5 separate regions of the Homo sapiens genome follow, and regions 1, 2, 3 and 5 are each linked to region 4. Evidence: promoter capture Hi-C in human tissues and cell types (Jung and others, 2019). All regions are on one chromosome and are shown on one strand. The core of a region is centred on a gene start or on the middle of the fragment in contact, and the rest is flanking DNA. Distances in the headings are between cores, read along the strand shown.

Region 1 (2,737 bases), core at 5-2,504, 600 kb after region 4:
GGCTCACTGCAAGCTCCGCCTCCCGGGTTCACGCCATTCTCCTGCCTCAGCCTCCCAAGTAGCTGGGACTACAGGCGCCCGCCACTACGCCTGGCTAATTTTTTGTATTTTTAGTAGAGACAGGGTTTCACCGTTTTAGCCGGGATGGTCTCGATCTCCTGACCTCGTGATCCGCCCGCCTCCGCCTCCCAAAGTGCTGGGATTACAGGCGTGAGCCACCGTGCCCGGCCTCCAAACAGTTTTAAAAGGTCTACCAGGTTACATGGTTAGTGATGAGAAAATTGCTGTTGTTCTGTGTTGTTGTAAATACTTGGCATTGTCTATCTTTTTCATTTGAAGCCATTCTGGTTAGTAGTTATAGATATGAATTTTAAGAACCATACTATGAATTCTCACATAGCAAGTACCATAAAGGGGTACAATGATTGGGAAGTTCAGAAGGGGAAGAGATTGCTTCCTTTGTACATGGAGGAGGGGCAGAGGGGGAGTTCCCAAGGAACATTTGTGGACCAGTGAGTATTTGTGCTGGACTTTGTAGGATAAGGATAATGACCATCTGTTGTCCAGGACCATTTTAATTTCTAATATTCTGTCTGGTTGTACTTACAGATTATGAAATACCAATCAATATTGCCATGTCTGTACCTTATCTCCCATACTATGCAGAAGCAACACCCAGTTATCTTTTCTCAACCGATGTGCTTCCCTTCCCCCCTTTTCCAGAAAGAATGGTCACAGGTGATTAGGCTGCAGAGATGGAGAACATTCTGTGCAATGGGAACAACTTGAGTAGAGGCACAGATGAATGACTAGACCGAGTAGTATCCATATTCCTGCTAATGAGCAGGTGGTGGAAGTGTCCCACACTTTGGAGATGGGTGATACCTTCTCATAGCCTCTCAGAGCAGAACAAGGTCATGTCGTTATGAAGCCAATTTGTATTTAAACTGGATAAAAGGATGAGAATGAGCTCTTTGCTTATACTTACATCATTTCAAGAAAGAAATTAATCCAGTAAACAGTCATACCTGAAGTATATCAAAAGAGAGTTTTTCTTCTTAAAATGGTTGGGGAGGGAATACTAAAACCTAAAGAACTTAGTCTCTCAGAGCTCATCTATTAGTTGTATATTTGCTCAGGGAAAAATTGCCATTTCTTTGTCAGCTTTTATCCTGCCGGTGGACCCTAGCTGGGTGTTTATTTTGTGTAGTTTTACCAAATCACTTTGAAGGTTGGCATGAACATTGATCATGTCTTAGAGCCTTTCCTCTTTGTTCTGTCAGCAAATATTAGAAAATGTACCTTAAATTACCTGGTTGGGGAAAATAGGGTGGCCCTGCCTCCTTCCAGAGAGCAGCATTTTCATGTTAAACATTAGTCAGCTTCTGATCCTGTGTCAGGTCGCGGGGTGTTTGTCAAGATAGACAGGGTGCTAGAGATGCCACTAGGGACATTCACTAGAGAATTTCTAGGCCCCCTCTCGAGGAGACTAGTCGAGTAGTTGATTTAAAAATCTGATGGGCTGGGTGCAGTGGCTCATGGCCTGTAATCCTGACACTTTGGGAGGCTGAGGCAGGCAGATCATGAGGTCAGGAGATCGAGACCATCCTGACGGAGTAGTGAAACCCCGTCTCTACTAAAAATAGCAAAATTAGCTGGGCGTGGTGGCGCGTGCCTGTAATCCCAGCTACTGGGGAGGCTGAAGCAGGAGAATCACTTGAACCAGGGAGTTGGAGGTTGTAATGAGCCAAGATCGTGCCACTGCGCTCCAGCCTGGTGACAGAGTGAGACTCTTTCTCAAAAAAAAAAAAAATCTGACCTGGGTTTTAAATGTTAACACAGCCTTGCATATTAGTGATATTGAGTGTCCACTGTGTTGAGATATCATACTTGGTACCTTTTGTTTATACTAATAGAGCTAATATTTACTGAAGGTTACTATGTGCGAAGCCTTTTATACATATAAAATATTATTTCATTCTCACCTCAACCCTAAGAAGTAGGTTGTATTGATCGTGATCATACAGATTGGAAACTGAGACAAAGGGAGGTTAAGAGATATGCCGTGGGCAACCACTGGTCTTTTTATAGTCTTCACAGATACGTCTTTGCAGAACGTCATACAGTTGGAATCATACAGTATGTAGCCTTTTCAGATTTGCCTCTTTCACTTAGTAATATCCATTTAAGTTTCTTCCATGTCTTTTTATGTTTTGATAGCTCATTTCTGTTTAATGCTGAATAATATTTCATTGTCTGGATGTGCCACAGTTTATCCACCTATTGAAGGTGTCATTGGTTGCTTCCAAATTTTGTCAATTATGAATAAAGATGCTATAAACAAACAAAAGAAAGATATGCCGTGGTCACGCTGCTGATATGATAGATGGAGTTGGCTAGGATTGAAACCTAACCAATTCCTCTTTATTTTTAATATGGAAAATTTCAAACATACACAAAATCGAATAGGTTAATGAAATATGATTTACCCATCACTTGGCTTCAACAGTTAGCAATTCATTGTCAGTCTTGTTTCATTTATACCCCTACCTACTTTTCTTCATTTTGTGCTTTGAAGAAAATCTCAGCTATCATATTTTGTCCTTAAATATTTCACAGTGTGTCTCTAAAAGATGACTTCTAAAAACAATTATAATGCCATTACCATCTTTATAAAGTGTAACAGTTCCTCAGTAAAATCAAAATCCAGATGATCGTGTTCAAATGTTCGATTGTT
Region 2 (2,700 bases), core at 117-2,616, 730 kb after region 4:
AAGGTAGATGAGTCTGGCTGGGCGCAGTGGCTCACACCTGTAATCCCAGCACTGTGGGAGGCCGAGGCGGATGGATCACAAGGTCAGGAGATCGAGACCGTCCTGGCTAACACAGTGAAACCCTGTCTTTACTAAAAAAATACAAAAACTTAGCCAGGCGTCGTGGCAGGTGTCTGTAGTCCCAGCTACTCGGGAGGCTGAGGCAGGAGAATGGCGTGAACCTGGGAGGCGGAGCTTGCAGTGAGCCGAGATGGCACCACTGCACTCCAGCCTGGGCAACAGAGCGAGACTCCGTCTCGAAAAAAAAAAAAAGAAAAAAAGGGTAGAAGAGTGTAATGGCTCAGTCAACGGAAAATGTTGACTACAACCAATTACAGGAGGTAATATATTATGAACCATCAAAATTGGGGGGAAAAGGTCTAGAACTATTGGGGCCATCAGAGTCTAACCCACGATGGCCAACTCCTCCTCCCACAGTTCAGATGCCCGTAACATTACAACCTCAAATGCAGGTTAGACAAGTACAAACCCCAAGAGAATATCAGATAGAAAAGGATAGTCTCTATCACAGCAATGCCAATCCAGATACAGTATTCACAATATCAGCTGGTAGAAAGTAAGACCCAACCGCCAGTACCCTATCAATACTGACCGCCAGCCGAACTTCAGTATCAGCCGCCCCCCAGAAAATCAGTATGGACAGCCAGGAACGTTTCCAGCACCACAGGGCACGCACGGCGATATAGCCTCAGCTGCCCACTATGAGACTTAATCCTACACCACCACCTAGTGGACAGGATGGTGCATTACATGAAATTATTGAGAAGGCAAGAAAACAAGGAGAGATACTGAGGCGTTTTAATTTCAAGTAATATTAGAGCCCATACTACCTGGAGAAGGGCCCTCCCCAAGCTGATGCCAGATATGAGTCCTTTTCTATAAAAATGCTAAAAGACATGAAAGAGGGAGTAAAACAGTATGGACCCAATTCTCCTTATATGAGAACATTATTAGATTCCATTGCTCATGGAAATAGACTTATTCCTTATGACTGGGAAATTTTGGCCAAATCATCACTCTCACCTTCTCAATTTTTACAATTTAAGACCTGGTGGATTGATGGGGTACAACAACAGATCCGCAAAAATAGGGCCGCCAATCCCAGTTAACATAGATGCAGGTAAAAAATAGAAAAATTAAACCACAAAAAATAGAAATAAGAAAAGACACATTAAAAACATTAAATGACTTTCAAAAATTGCTAGGAGATATTAATTGGATTTGGCCAATTTTAGGCATTCCTACTTATGCCATGTCAAATTTGTTCTCTATCTTAAGAGGGGACCCGGACTTAAATAGTAAAAGAATATTGACCCCAGAGGCAGCAAAAGAAATTGAATTAGTTGAAGAAAAAATTTGGTCAGCACAAGTAAATAGAATAGATCCCTTGGTCCCACTCCAACTTTTGATTTTTGCTACTGCACATTCTCTGACAGGCATCATTGTTCAAAATACTGATCTTGTGGAGTGGTCATTCCTTCCTCACAGTACAATTAAGACTTTTACATTGCATCAAATAGCTACATTAATTGGTCAGGCAAGGTTATGAATAATAAAATTGTGTGGAAGTGACCCAGACAAAATCATTGTTCCTTTAAACAAGGAACAGGTTAGACAAGCCTTTATCAATTCTTGTACATGGCAGACTGGTCTTGCTGATTTTGTGGGAATTATTGACAATCATTACCCAAAAACAAAAACCTTCCAGTTTTTAAAATTGACTACTTGGATTTTACCTAAAATTACCAGACATGAACCTTTAGAAAATGCTCTGACGGTGTTTACTAATGGTTCCAGCAATGAAAAAGCAGCTTACATTGGGCCAAAAGAACAAGTCATCGAAACTCAATATCACTGGGCTCAAAGAGCAGAGTTGGTTACAGTCATTACAGTGTTACAAGATTTTAATCAGCCTATTAATATTGTATCAGATTCTGCATATGTAGTACAGGCTACAAGGGATGTTGAGACAGCCCTAATCAAATATAGTATTGATGATCAGTTAAACCAGCTGTTCAACTTATTACAACAAACTGTGAGAAAAAGAAATTTCCCATTTTGTATTACTCACATTGAAGCACACACTAATTTACCAGGGTCTTTAACTAAAGCAAATGAACAAGCTGACTTACTGGTATCATCTGCATTCATAAAAGCACAAGAACTTCATGCTTTGACTCATGTAAATGCAGCAGGATTAAAAATAAATTTGATATCTCATGGAAACAGGCAAAAAATATTGTACAACATTGCACCCAGAGTCAAGTCCTACACCTGCCCACTCAAGAGGCGGGAGTTAATCCCAGAGGTCTATGTCCTAATGCGTTATGGCAAACGGATGTCACACATGTATCTTCATTTGGAAAATTATCATTTGTCCATGTGACAGTTGATACTTATTCACATTTCGTATGGGCAACTTGCGAGACAGGAGAAAGTACTTCCCATGTTAAAAGACATTTATTATATTGTTTTGCTCTCATGGGAGTTCTGGAAAAAATTAAAACTGACAATGGGCCAGGATACTGTAGTAAAACATTCCAAAAATTCTTAAATCAGTGGAAAATTACACATACAACAGGAATTCCCTATAATTCCCAAGGATAGGCCATAGTTGAAAGAACTAATAGAACACTCAAA
Region 3 (2,700 bases), core at 58-2,557, 650 kb after region 4:
TTTCCTAGGCCACACCATAATTTGTACTCCACTATTGTTCCTTTTCTAGCCAGCAAATCCTAAAATTACAGAGGATCCTGCAAACCACTAATCAGAGAGCATTGTTAGAGCATCAAGCTTTCTGTTTTGATGTGTTTATCCCAGTAGGCAGGAAAATGAGGAAACAACAGGCTTAATGGCCATCAGATGTTTCCAAACAGTTGAAGGACCAGGGGTCAAGTAATTATCTCAGTAACTGGAAAGGTGCCCTTACCGTGCAAAGTCGAACTCTGTTCTTCCTGCTGTAAGAAATTTGAGTTATATCTGGGGGACTCATCCAGTAGGCCCACAGTCCCCACAGTCCAGCTCCTACTAAGAACTAAGCTCTGACACCAGTAATATAAAAAAGATCCTGAGAGGGGTTTGAAGAGAATGTGTAAGTTTCTGCTCCTCTGTCACCGTCTCCATCACAAAATTGAGGGGGTAGGAATGTTCTGCTGGATTTCTATCCAGACAGTGGCAGAGGAAGTTGGCTTTGGCATTTAGTGGGGCTATCCTTGCATTTTACTAAGCCCTCTAGTTAAGATCAAATCAAGTTTAAAAAGAAACTTTTTTTTTTTTTCACTCTGTTGGCCAGGCTGATCTCGAACTCCTGACCTCAGGTGATCCGCCTGCCTCGGCCTCCCAAAGTGCTGGGATTACAGGTGTGAGCCACCACATCCAGCCCAAAAATATCACCTTTAAATTTGCAAGTTTATATGGTAGATTGTTCAAAGCACATCTGATCACAACACAATCCCGTGACATAGAGGTTCTTTTCCATGTATCATATGAGGACGTTAAGGTTCAGAAAAGAGATGGTGACTTGTCCAGGGTTTGACGGCAAATTAGTGATAGACCCTTTTCACAAGTGCCTAGTGCAAGGCCAACATTTAGTAGATGTTCAATAATTTTTTTTTTTTTTTTTTTTTTTTTTTTTTTTGAGACAAGGCCTCGCTGTGTCACCCAGGCTATAGTGCAATGGCACAGTCATGGCTCACTGCAGGTCCAACCTTCTGGGCTCAAGCAGTCCTCCCACCTCAGCCTCCCAAGTAACTGGGACTATAAACATGTACCACCATGCCCGGCTAATTTTTAATTGTTTTTAGAGACAGGCTCCCACTATATTGCCCAGACTGGTCTTGAACTCCTGAGCTCAAGCAGTCCTCCTGCTTTGGCCTCCCAAAGTATTAGGATTACAGGCGTGAGCCACCATGCCTAGCCAAGAAATATTTATTAATTGAAAATTTTAGTACATTCTCAGGGATTAACTTATGGTCTCCTAACTCTTTGCCCAGTATTCTTTCCATTAAGATAGCTTGGTGGGGCCAGTGGTTGGGCTTCATCTCAGGGTGACCAGATAATAAAGAGAGGGAGGGCTGAATCTCTGTCACTATTGATATTGCTGACAAGGATGGCATTTTCTGGCCTTTGCTGCTGTCCTTATACATACTACCCACTACAGAAAGCCCAGATTCAGTAGTCTCTGGGCTGCAGACTCAAGCTTTTGTTGCCTTTGCTCCCTGTAGTATACTGAACAATGATGCCAGTGACCCCCAGCTTCTCACTCTGCCTTCTCCTTTATTTTCTTTCTCATCAGTGTCTTACATCTCCTTCTATTCTGCTGATGGATGAGGAATTTGAGCTCATCTCACAAACATCAGCTACACGGTTCACTGTTAAGGAGTTGTTGTATCATGTACCTTGGGAAACCATTTACTGAAAAACGCCCACCTAGGATTCTTTCACCTGTTCACTAGCAGAAATTTCACTGGTTGCTAGTATAGTGCTGGAGGCTGGGATTGCAAAGATTAATAAAATAGTCTCTGCCTTCAAGGAGTTCAGAATTTAATGGAGGGAGACAGATGTGTAAATACAAAAGTGCAGCAGATGTTGCAGTAGAGGTCAGCAGAGAGTATCTGGGTCCAGAGGAGTGAGTGGCTGGATCTGCCTACGGGGTGGGATACAAAAGCTTTCCCGAAGAGTTTTCTACAGGGACGTCACATCAGTGGGTTTGTACTCAGAAAACTCCTGGCCCCAGCCACCACTGCCAGATCAGAAATTGGTTGCAGGCTGGGCATGGTGGCTCAAGCCTGTAATCCCAGCACTTCGGGAGGCTGAGGCAGGTGGATCACTTGAGGTCAGGCGTTCGAGACCAGCCTGACCAATGTGGTGAAACTTTGTCTCTACTAAAAATACAAAAATTAGCCAGGCGTGATGGTGTATGCCTGGCATCCCAGCTACTTGGGGGGCTGAGGCACAAGAATCGCTTGAACCTGGGAGGTGGAGGTTGCAGTGAGCTGAGGTCACACTCCAGCCTGGGTGACAGAATGAGACTGTCTCAAAAAAAAAAAAAAGAAAGAAAGAAAGAAATTGGTTCCAGTTGTACTTTATTGATGAAGCGGTCTCCCTCTTAACCTTACTCAATGTTGAGTATGATATTTTGAGCTATCTGTTAAATGGGGGCAATAGTAATACCATTTTCATTTAGAAAATTCCTGAGCACTTAACTTGCATTATCTTAACATTATCTCATTGAATTCTCACAACAGCCTTATGGAGAAAGTACTGTAATATTATTCCCATTTTTACAAATGAGAAAACCAGGCACAGAGAGGTTAAATCATTTACCCAGGATCATACAGCCAACGTATAGCAGAGCTGGGATTTGAACCCCAGGTA
Region 4 (2,700 bases), core at 52-2,551:
GGCCACAGACAGGTACCATTCTACCACCTAGGGTTAGGGGAACCCTGCTATACACGTGTAAAGAGCAGATGTGGCCCATTACCTTTCCAATGAGATGACCTGCCACATCTGCTACTAGCACTTAGGAGCAATGCCAACCCAGTTTCAAGAGTCAGAGAAGAACAGCCTTAAAGTGTGAACTTTAAAATCGCCCCTTTCTACTCCATAATTGCTGTGTGACCTTTGGCAAGACAAATTTCTGTCTCTGAGCCGCCAATTCCACATGTGTAAAATAAGGATAAAAGCAGCACCTACCACCCCATAAGTGTTATTAAGAATAAGATATTAAAAACCCAACTTGAGATACAGTAAGCGTTCACTAACTGCACATTTACAGCCCACACCCCCTTTCACAGAGAGTATTAGAGCATCCTGGTTAAGAGTATGAACTCCACTAAAAATACAAAACTTAGCCGGGTGTGGTGGTATGCGCCTGTAATCCTAGCTACCCAGGAGGCTGAGGCAGGAGAATCGCTGGAACTCGCGGGGCAGGGGCTACAGTGAGCCGAGATCGCGTCACTGCACTCCAGCCTGGGCGACAGAGCAAGACTCCCGTCTCAAGAAAAAAAAAGTATGGACCCTGGAGTCAGAATCTGACCCCACTGCTGCCAAGCCAGCTAAACCTTAGGCACCTGTCTTAAACTCTGGGAGCCTCTAGATGGGGATAATAGCACCTATCTCCATAAGCCTACCGTAGGATCAAATGCAATAATACAAGCAAAATGCTTTGCATAACGCAATGTAGAAGCCTCTCTGGAGGCTCGAAATTAATTCTGACAGTCGGCAATGAGGCTGGAACAACAGCGTACAACATCCCAAACATTTTATTGGCTGGTTACAATGCGTTAGGCATGGTGCAAAGCATTTTCCGCGAATTATTACCTATAACCCTCATAGCAACCCTGTGAGGCAGGCTGTACTGTCAACCCCACTTCACGGGTGGCGAAGCGAAGCCTTGAAAGAAGTGGAGGTGACCTGTCCAAGGTCACACGGGGTTAGGCGGCGGGGTTAGGGTACGAACCCCTACAGCCTGACGCCAGGCCCCACGCCATAACCACCGTGCCATCCTCCCTCTTGAACACCGTGCGCTTCCCGGGATCCGCGGCCCCTCCTGCCCCAGGCGCCAGTCAAAAGCGGGTGCGCAGCCCACCCCGGCGGCCGCGCTGCTCACCTCCCGCAGCAGCAACAGTGCCCGGGGTCCCGCAGCGTAAGTTCTGCCGGCAAGTCGGATCCCCTCACAGGTCCGCCGCTGCGTTCATACACAAGCGACTTCCGTTCCGCCGCTACTTCAGGCCGGGTCATGCTAACGGAAGTGCTTCCTTTTTACAGTCCGGGTGGACCCAAAGCTCCGTGGCGGTGCTGAACTTTAGGGCAGCCACTAGCCACGGACTTAAGCGGCAATTGAGCTCCTCAAAGTGGGTGAGTGCAAATCAAATGTGCGCTAAATGTCAGATACACTGGATGTGGAAGAAGAAATGTCAAATAGTGTCAAATAGTTCATATATATAATGTTTATATTGATTATGTGCTGCAATAATTGTTGGGATATATTGGATTAAATAAGTACATTTGTTGAATTAGTTTTTTTTATTTGTAGCTATGGTGGTAGAAATATTTGAATTAAGTTCACCTGTTGTTTCTTTTTACTTTTTCAATGTGGCTAGCAGGGGGAAAAATAATATGGTGTGATCATGGCTCACTGCAGCTTCCGCCTCCCATGCTAAAGCAATCCTCCCACCTCACACTCCCAAGTGGCTGGGACTACAGGCAGGCGCCACCACGCCCAGCTAAAATTTTTTTAATTTTTTTGTAGAGACCGGTCTCCCCATGTTGCCCAGGCTGGTCTCAAACTCCTACCTAGGCGCAAGCCATCCTCCCACCTTGGCCTCCCAAAGTGCTGGGATTGTAGGCATGAGCCACCGTGTCCGGTCCTTACTGGGAAATTTTAAGTCACCTAAGAGGTTCACGCTCTATTTCTATTGGAGGGTGCTGCCCTGTAGGTTAATGACTTCCTGATTCACATCTCCAGCTGGACCCTCCCTGCAGTACCAGAGCCATAGCTCAGCTGCCTACTTGACACCCCTTCTTGAGTGTCTGATGACCATCTCTAACTTATACAGAACTCTTCATTTCCACACATGCACCTTCACCAAAAACCTGTACCTGTCATTCTGGCCCATCTCAGTAAATGGCCCAACCATCCTTCCAGGTGCACTAGGAGGAACTGAATGGTCATTTTCTTCACCTCCCTGGATCCCCACATTCTATCTGTCAGTAAGCCCTGTCAACTCTAACTCCAAAATGTCAAATCTGTCTACTCGGTAGCTACAACTACCCAGGCCACCATTGTCTCATCAGAAACAATCACAGTAGCCTGCTAATGGTCACCTTGTCTCCTGAGAACAGTTTCCCACACATAGCCTAAGGGAATTTGTGTTTGTTTTATTAAATCAAATTATATCACCCCTCTCCTGAAAACTCTCCGTGGCAGGCCGGGCGTGGTGGCTCACATCTGTAATCCCAGCACTTTGGGAGGCCAAGATGGGCAGATTGCTTGAGCCCAGGAGTTCTAGACTAGCCTGAGCAACATGATAAAACCCCATCTCTACAAAAAACACAAAAATTACCCCGGCATGGTGGTGGGTACCTGTGGTCCCAGCT
Region 5 (2,731 bases), core at 187-2,686, 620 kb after region 4:
TTAATAAAGACAATGTCTCACTTGGCTGCCCATGCTGGTCTCGAACTCCTGGGCTCAGGTGGTCTCCTGTCTCGGCCTGCCAAACTGCTGGGTTTATAGATGGGAGCCACCATGCACAGCCTGGACAAAGCTCTTATTCTCTTCTCTATACCTTATACCTCACCCCTAGTTTTTAAGTTTGAGGGCCCTCTAGTGGAAAAGACAGATACCGTAGAAAATCTGGATCATAGTATGAGTTGAGAAGTTGGGGATGGGTAGGCAGAAGGTTTTGATCACTCAAAGCAGCTGATGTTGTGGGTGGAGGGGCTTATGATACTTTGAGACACCCTATACCTTTCCCCTCCATAACTGTTGACACTTGTTCTGGCCAGTTTGAACTTGTTTCTGCCCCTCAACTGCCAGAGCACATAAGGCCCCTACGAAACTAAAGGCTGGCTTTATCCCTCAGTCACCTTTACCAAACAGAAACTTTGTAAGTGCCACTTGATGTCCCTATGTGCCTCTCCCTGCCACTCTACTGAGCCTCCTATGCCTCACTTCCTTTTTCCTTCAGCACTGTGCATCTGCCCTGAAGGACGGAAAAAGTACCATCTAGGGAGACCACAGTGGTGAGTTTTAAGCTCATTTCTGCCTTCAGCTTCCTATGTGACCAAAGGCAATTCATTTCATGTCTCTGGCCCTTCTGTAGGCTCCAGTGCAGATTATCTTCAGCCACTTTTTGGGACTTGGGATTTCTTCTCTAAGCCTCCAGCTTCATAGCATAGCATTTTTTCCCCCAAAGTTCCCCTCTCTTTTCAATCTAGAATATTAGTATATGCTCAAAGATCATTTGCTTGAAATTCACTACCTTCACCTGTGAGGAGAGTAGTCGTATCTGTTTTTATTGGTAGAGTTCCAGGAACTGGCAGTCAGTCTGACTGCTAGAGTGGAACAGACCCCGTCAGCAAGGCATGATGTCTCCAGGATGGGCTGTGTAGTTCAGTACAGACAAACTTTTGGCCCTGGGAATCCAAGATACAGTAGAGGAAGAAGGGCCAGGCACTAGTCTAGGCAGTTTACGTAATTTTTTCCCCTCATTTATCTTCACTATTCTGAGGTAGGTGATTTAATCACCATTTTACAAATGTGAGGACTTAAGTTTTAGAGAGTATCATTTGGTAGACAGTGACTGACTCATTGTGGATACAGGAAAACAACTGAATATTTCTTGCTCCCAAGTAGGGAAGAGTGGTAGAAGAGACAGGCAAGTGAACGGTGGTCAAAGCACCAAGGATACCCAGTTTTGGTGGGAGAGCCATGGCTTAAACCTAGGTCTATCTGCTAATTGTTTCTACTATATGCTGCCTTCCTTACAGAGGGGTGGAGAGAGCAGCAAACCCAAGTGGACATCCAGGCTGGCAAGCAGTCTCTGGACAATGGCCATTGGTGGGGAGGCCTGTCCTTGGATTTTGAGTTGGGCTTTAGTTCGAGGGGGTGGGGGTCTGAAGTCTTAAGCGGGTGACTAAGGCAGGGGCTCTCATGTGGAGCTAACCCCATTTATAGAATAAAGCACCTAATTTTGTGCACTCTAGAAAGTGAAGCCTTATGGTCAGCACTGATCATATGCTGGAGTATCACAAGAGCCCCACAGTCAGTCTATGGTATAATAGGGCCAGAACCAGTCTCCTTATTCCCAATCAGGCCACCTCTCACCTCACTCAGACTTAATACAGTATAGAATAACTTTGGAGGGGACCTCAGTGTGGAGGCTGGAACTGCAAATTTCAAGCTTACATATCAGTTTTTGAATAGGTATTCAAAAACCAATGACAGGCTGGGTGTGGTGGCTCACGCCTGTAATCCCAGCACTTTGGGAGTCCAAGGCGGGCGGATCACCTGAGATTATCAGGAGTTCGAGACCAGCCTGGCCAACATGGTCTGAGTGAGGTGAGAGGTGGCCTGATTGGGAATAAGGAGACTGGTTCTGGCCCTGCCACTGACTTCCCTCTGTGACTTTGGACAGATTCCCCTCCCTGCTCTGGTCTTACCTCCCTTTTTATAAAATGGTTGAGCCCTTCCAACTCTGGTCTCATCAGGGGCATGAAAGCCATTTTCTACACAGTCTCAGTTGCACAGAGCAGTGTCTGGTCGGAGCTTTGGTGTGTTGGTTACTGATTATAAAGCTTTAGATTCTCACTTCCAGCTCAAGAGGGGGAAGGGGAACCATCCAACTGTCTCATTAGCATGGAGAAAAGAAAACAGTAATTACTCGTGCCTCCCTTGATAATTCCTGCAGGGTTGGATCTTCTAGGGAAGGAGGAGGGGAAAACTAGAGATAGCTTCAGCTGAGAAAGGAGAAATGCTGTTAGCTGCCCAGAAAATGCAGAGGCAAGAATGATTGTCTTGCACATCTGTTGTATTCTGTGGACGTTCCTCCAGGCAGCTTGGAGACTGCCTAGATTGAGTTTCATCTATTTATGGCATGCATTATGTTCTCATACGTGAACATGGGTTGGGCTCAAGACCCCTAATGTCACCTGTCATTAAGAAACCAGCTGTCCTCTAGGGCCTACTTTTTGATACACTGGGCATCCTGACACCTGTCTTTGTTTGGGAGTATGGGAGGGTTTTACTGACCCATTTTGTGTCCTGGCTGCATTTTTTATTATGTTGTGAGGTCATTTTTTTTACCCCCACAGCAACACAGCCAGTAGTTTTATTATGCCTGGGCATAGGCAACCATACAGTAGAG

The links. Contacts are between HindIII fragments. The study calls those that stand out against the background at their distance.
Region 1: a contact is called between a fragment that was not itself captured here and the fragment with the promoter of CDK5RAP1 in region 4, in 1 of the 25 tissues and cell types used here (small bowel).
Region 2: a contact is called between a fragment that was not itself captured here and the fragment with the promoter of CDK5RAP1 in region 4, in 1 of the 25 tissues and cell types used here (H1 embryonic stem cells).
Region 3: a fragment that was not itself captured here is called in contact with the fragment with the promoter of CDK5RAP1 in region 4 in 1 of the 25 tissues and cell types used here (bladder).
Region 5: a contact is called between a fragment that was not itself captured here and the fragment with the promoter of CDK5RAP1 in region 4, in 2 of the 25 tissues and cell types used here (hippocampus and ovary).

What each region holds. Positions count from the first base shown.
Region 1 is chr20:34,003,709-34,006,445 of GRCh38, forward strand. All of the region lies in intron 1 of RALY (RALY heterogeneous nuclear ribonucleoprotein), which reads left to right. Among named protein-coding and RNA genes, the nearest start is that of RALY-AS1, 11 kb to the left of the region's middle. The HindIII fragment of the contact is 6,853 bases long and covers 1-2,737 here.
Region 2 is chr20:34,129,062-34,131,761 of GRCh38, forward strand. No RefSeq gene overlaps it. Among named protein-coding and RNA genes, the nearest start is that of EIF2S2, 18 kb to the left of the region's middle. RefSeq lists an enhancer at 642-936. The HindIII fragment of the contact is 4,025 bases long and covers 1-2,700 here.
Region 3 is chr20:34,052,455-34,055,154 of GRCh38, forward strand. All of the region lies in intron 2 of RALY (RALY heterogeneous nuclear ribonucleoprotein), which reads left to right. Among named protein-coding and RNA genes, the nearest start is that of MIR4755, 4.7 kb to the left of the region's middle. The HindIII fragment of the contact is 3,882 bases long and covers 1-2,700 here.
Region 4 is chr20:33,400,218-33,402,917 of GRCh38, forward strand. It overlaps CDK5RAP1 (CDK5RAP1 mitochondrial tRNA methylthiotransferase), which reads right to left and starts at 1,302. Exons shown (of 14, transcript NM_016408.4): 1 at 1,211-1,302. LOC124904889 (a long non-coding RNA gene) reads left to right here and starts at 1,365. Exons shown (of 2, transcript XR_007067567.1): 1 at 1,365-1,458. RefSeq lists enhancers at 1,013-1,102, 1,243-1,442. The HindIII fragment of the contact is 17,720 bases long and covers 1-2,700 here.
Region 5 is chr20:34,022,108-34,024,838 of GRCh38, forward strand. The region is part of intron 1 of RALY (RALY heterogeneous nuclear ribonucleoprotein); the gene reads left to right. Among named protein-coding and RNA genes, the nearest start is that of MIR4755, 26 kb to the right of the region's middle. The HindIII fragment of the contact is 3,139 bases long and covers 1-2,731 here.